2 separate regions of the Homo sapiens genome follow, and region 1 is linked to region 2. The links are contacts of gene promoters, found by promoter capture Hi-C in blood cells and fetal thymus (Javierre and others, 2016). All regions are on one chromosome and are shown on one strand. Each heading gives the region's core, a stretch centred on a gene start or on the middle of the fragment in contact. The rest is flanking DNA. Distances are from core to core; before and after follow the strand shown.

Region 1 (2,700 bases), core at 129-2,628, 280 kb before region 2:
AAGTAGCTCCTTCCTATTTCTCTATCTGATCCCCTTTTTAGTTTCCTCATGTACATAATTTTGTAATTATTATGTTTGCCTGGATATGTTTTCCCCAACAAGAGTGTAATAACATTCCATGAAGACAGGGATCATATCTGACTTGTTGGAAGCTGTATTCCTGGTACCTACCAGCATCTGGCACATAATAGGTATTCAGCAAATATTGAACGAACGAAGAACAAACAGAACAAATCTCTATATAGAACCTTCTACTTCTAAAAATTAATTTTATAGGTATAGCCCTACATGGCCAAAATGCTGTATGTTTAAGGTTTTCATTTCAGTATTATTTGTAAAAACAGAAGATTGGAATCAGCCTAAATAGCCACCAGTAAGGAGCTATGAAATTATATATACACATAAAATGCAGTGCTATACAGTTATAAACAAGAATGAAGAAGCTTATTGTCTCGATATGATCTCTAAGATGTATTAACAAGTGGGAAAGAAAGCAAGGTGCAGCAAACTTTTATCATTTGTATAAAAGTCAGAGACAAAAGATGATACACAAGAAATGGTAGAAAGGGACAGAGATAAAGGGGAGACTTTTCCCTGTATGGCTTTTGTATCTTTTGAATACGCAGCCATATGACTATATTGCCCATTCAAAAACAAACAAACTCACTGTAAGTGAACCGAGGCTTGGAGATGCAGCTAAAGGGCCCAGCCCTTCTGCCTCTTTGCCTGAAAGTTAGGGGGTGATAGGGAGGAATCCCGGGGAAAGGTGGTATCTGGCTGAAGAGAAGGTACCTCACTGCTGCCAATTTCCCCTATGTTGAGAATGCTCAGCATTTAAAAACGCCCTTCATGTCTGCCTTTAAAATATCTGTTCCTGGCTGGGCACGGTGGCTCACACCTGTAATCCCAGCACTTTGGGAGGCCAAGGAGGGCAGATCATGAGGTCAGGAGATCGAGGCCATCCTGGCCAACACGGTGAAATCCTGTCTCTACTAAAAATACAAAAACAAAATTAGCCAGGCGTGGTGGCAGGCACCTTTAGTCCCAGCTACTCGGGAGAGGTGGGAGAATGAGGTGAACCCAGGAGGCGGAGTTTGCAGTGAGCCGAGGCGCCACTGCACTCCAACTCCAGCCTGGGCGACAGAGCGAGATTTCGTCTCCAAAAAAAAAAAAAAAAAACTGTTCCTGGCCTGGTGCGGTGGTTCACGCCTGTAATCCCAGCACTTTGGGAGGCCAAGCGGGCAGATCACCTGAGGTAAGGAGTTCGAGACCAGCTTGGCCAACATGGTGAAACCTCTACTAAAAATACAAAAATTAGCCAGGTGTGGTGGCACACGCCTGTAGTCTCAGCTACTGGGGAGGCTGAGGCACGAGAACTGCTTGAACCTGGGAGGCGGAGGTTGCATTGAGCTGAGACTGCACCACTGCACTCCAGCCTGGGTGACAGAGTGAGACACTCTCAAAAAGACAAAACAACAACAACAACAACAAACTGTCCTTCATCTTGTCCTAAGAAGAAAAGGGTATGAGCTAAACCTCTCCAATGTGACTCATCTTTTCTAAGTGCTCAACTGCTTTAGTTCTGTATTCAGACTTGCTCTTGCCCCTGACGCTTTCCTCAGCATGGGAAGTCAGAAACTAATCAATAGTGGAGGAAATACAATTTTCTGTGTCACACTTTCCCATCTCAAGCTGCCTCAGGAGCCTCTCTAACATCTTTGGGTCCTACCAGGCTCCAGGGGAGCCTCAGAAGCGTCTCAGAGACTGGCACCACACCATTCAATTGTCCAAATGGAAACCTATGAGTCACTCTCCACAACTCCCTCTTCCTTGCCAATAAATCACCAAGTCTTGTTAACTTTACCTCCTCAAGATTTCTTGAATCTATCCATTTCTCTCCATTTCCTTTTCCACCACCCATCTTGCCCAAGCCACCATCTTTTTTCATCTAATTGCAGTGGCCTCCCAACTGTTTTCCCCACATCCACTCCAATCAGCAGCTATAACAAGCTCTTCAAAGTGCACCTCAGACTGTTAGCCCCCTGCTTAAAACTCTTCAATGGCTTCCCACTGCTCTTAGGGTAAATAGTAAACCCCCTACCCAGTACTATGAGGGGGTCTGCTACCCAGCTACCTTGCCAATCTCCCCCATGCTGAGCTCCTGGGTCTCAGTTCCAGCCCTACTCACCTTCTCTCAGCTCTCCCACCTCAGGCATCCACCTTTGCCTGAGAAAACTGGGTTGGCCCTGCCAACCCCACACACCTTGCCTACTACACTTCACATCTACCAATCATTTCTTCACGAAAGCTTTTCCCAACTCCCTGAACTAGTCAGAGCCCGCTTTTATATACTTGTACAACACCATGTACCTTCTCCTTCGGCAATTATCCATTAGAATTTTATAGTTATTTGTATAATCCTGATTATATTATTTTTCTATTTGGCATGAATAAAAAACAAATGCTGCCAATTAAATTATAATATCCTGTCAATTTGAAGATGCATCCTGACTTGACAAATGTTCAAATATGAGTCTCAGAATTAATGAAATATAATATCCGTGGCCCCTACTAGACTGAAAACACTGAAGGGCAGGGACTTCATCTGTTTTTGCTCACCTCATATCCAGTTCCCATTGTGTTTTCCTTACCACCATCTATGGGTACAAACTAGGTGCTAATAAGTATGTGTTAACTGAA
Region 2 (2,700 bases), core at 190-2,689:
AATTCCCTTTATTAAAATATTCTGGAAAACTTCGTTTGACCTAGACCTTGGCACCCCACAATTCAACCACCTCTTTCGGAGGCCGGCTTGGAAAGCCACTCCACAGCAGCTGGACAAATCCTCACAATATCAAACTGGACGCCAAGCGTGCCTGCCAGTGTCCCCTCTATCTGGAGCGACCACCAGCCAGCACCCGCTACTTCCAAATCAAGTGGCCATACCTGGGTGCCCCGCTCCCAGACCGAGTCAGACCAGTCATTTCCTTTGACCACAGAGTGAAAATGGCCCGTCTCGCCCTGCTCCCACTTCCATCCAAATGGACTTTGTCTTTTGTGTCTGTTGTGTCACGGAAGTCCGGCTTCCCCAGGCCAGGCTCCTCCCCAGGGCCCTCCCCGGCCCCCTGGGGATCACATTCCCGCCTGGGACTCCTCCCGCCCGCCCTCGCGGGGAAACTCGGTGCAAGGCTCTGCAGACGCCTGCAGCTCCGGTGGGCTCAGTGCCCAGCCCGGGCCCAGCTCCTCCCACACCACCGCACCATGGCCGCCAGGTGGCGCTGCCGCCGATGGAAGGGGGGGTCCGGGCGGTCCCCAGACACCTTGTGCGGGTACCGAGGCACAGCAGCACAGGACTGCCCCTATGGAGGGGCTGCCTGGCAGGAGCAAGGGACGCTCCTATCTGTAGTGCTAAAAAAAAGGATAAACTCCTGTAAATGCAAGAATACGTCCTTGATTACCTCCTCCCACCCCCACAAATTGAAAGGTGACTCCTCCCTCACCTCAAGCTGCACGCTCCTCTCTTCACGCTCCGTTGACCTTCAAGACTGGATGGTTCCACCTCCAATTCCCTTAAGGCAGAGACATCCACGGACAGGCTGCAGTGAGGGACATCCAACCCAAGCTGTCCTCAACCCCCCACAGGGCTTGCTTGCCTCACCGGCCCACCTCCGAGCCTTCCAGTTAGGGGCTCTGCTTCTGCACCTGAGCCTGAGACCTGAGGAGCCTCCCAATCCAGGGCTGCTCTGTCCCGCGGGCTATGAACCAGAGGGAGAAACGGGAGCAGAGGGTTGGAGGGCAGGAGGCTCGACCAGGAGGGCGAGGCCGCAGCCCGAGGCTCGTGGTAGTCTGCCTTCCTGCGCCTCTGCGCTGCAACGGAGCTGCAATGCAAGACGCCTTCATTTCAATGTCCCGGGCTCCAATCCCGGGTTCTACTCCGTGAACTTGGCTAAGTCATGCAGCTTCTTGGGCCTCAATTTCCTTCTCTGGCAATCTCGTGGATCTCCGAGGTCCCCCAGTCTGGACTTGCGGGGGCTTCGGGGGACGGTCGGCCTCGCGGGTGTCACCTCCCGGCAGTAGGCAGAGCGCTTCCCTCCAAACGCCCTCAGCCCTCATCTCGGCCTGGAGAGGAAATGCTGCTCTCTATATGACCTCTTAGGGCTCACTGAGGGGCCTAGGCTGGGAGGGGCCCCAAAGCGACGCCTCAGACTGCTGGGGGGCGGGGGCGGACAGGAGCGCTGAATAATGAATGAGACTTAATTGGGCCCGCACTGCGCGACGGCGCGCTAAGCTTTGCAAACAGCGTGGGCGGCGGCGGCCGCCGCTGGACAAACAAACTATCTCCCGGCTCAGGTGGTGGGGCGGGGGCGGCAGCCATACAAGGGAGAGGGAAGGGGCTGGCCGCCGGGGCACCCGGGGCCGCAGCGCGCCCCCAGGTTTACTTCCCGAGGAACCCAGAAATGCGGGGCTGCGCTGGCGGCCCAGAGAGTGGGGGTCGGGAAGGGGCTCAGGGTTCGATCTCAGGAAGGGAGGAGTGGGGAGGGAGAGAAGCGGATTGTGCGGGGAGAGCCAGGGGCCCAAGGGCAATGTAAGCGCGAGGAAAAGCTGAAGAAACGAGTGGAGGGCAGAGGAGAGGGGAGAAGTGAGCGAGGAAAAAGCGCACCGGGGGAGGGGCGACGGGGTCGGGGGAGCGGGAGAAGAGCTGTTACCGGGAGGAAAGGGAAGAGCGATGGAGGAACAAGCGAAGGAAGGCGCAAGGGGCCGGGAGAAGAGGAATTGAAGAGTCAAGGAGAGGGATGGGAGGTGACCGGAATAAGAACGAGGGGGCGGCAGGGCGGGGGGAGGCGCCCCTGCCTCCGCCTCGCCCTGCAGCGCTCCCGGCCTAGCGCTCTCTCCAGCCGCCCGCACTCACTTTGTCACAATTACGGGGCCGTCACTCCGCCCGGATTGTTTTCCCCAAATTGTTGTTCTATAAACTGGTGCAGAGTGGGAGGTGGGGGGATCTGACAAACTGCAGCGAGAGGAAAGGGTCTGAGCTGTGGTGCGGGGCGCGGTGGTGCATTTACCCGCAAACTGGCCCCGCGTGGGCGGAGGAATCCAAAAAACCCACGCAGGAATTCTGGTTGCTGCCCCAGCTTCGTCGCTGACCCCGCTTTTAACTTTTTGGCTATTCTCAGCATCGGCTGCCTCGGTTTCCCCAGCAGAGCGTGACAAGGATCGGAGGCTGGGGTGGTGGAGGCGCTTGTAGGTGGGGTCCAAACCGTCCTGCCTGTCCCATTCTGTCTTGTTCTTTACTACCCGGGTCTCCCCGGCGGGGGATGGGTGGTCTATCCCAGCCCAGCGGTCCTCAGAGCGACCTCGAGTGCCTTCTTCCCCCGTGAGTGAGGCTTCTGCCCTCACCCGGTCTGGGCCATCTCCTACCCCGCCT

What was found. The method cuts DNA at HindIII sites, captures the fragments that hold promoters and counts their contacts. A CHiCAGO score of 5 or more calls a contact.
Region 1: a contact is called between a fragment that was not itself captured here and the fragment with the promoter of DNAJC22 in region 2, in 2 of 17 cell types (M0 macrophages and endothelial precursors). The highest score is 5.9, in M0 macrophages.

The regions. Positions count from the first base shown.
Region 1 is chr12:49,627,042-49,629,741 of GRCh38, reverse strand. The region is part of intron 1 of PRPF40B (pre-mRNA processing factor 40B); the gene reads right to left. Among named protein-coding and RNA genes, the nearest start is that of PRPF40B, 4.8 kb to the right of the region's middle. The HindIII fragment of the contact is 1,865 bases long and covers 446-2,310 here.
Region 2 is chr12:49,345,627-49,348,326 of GRCh38, reverse strand. DNAJC22 (DnaJ heat shock protein family (Hsp40) member C22) reads right to left here and starts at 1,439. Exons shown (of 4, transcript NM_001304944.2): 1 at 776-1,439; 2 at 222-683. RefSeq lists silencers at 403-622, 2,655-2,700 and an enhancer at 1-740. The HindIII fragment of the contact is 2,270 bases long and covers 1-1,565 here.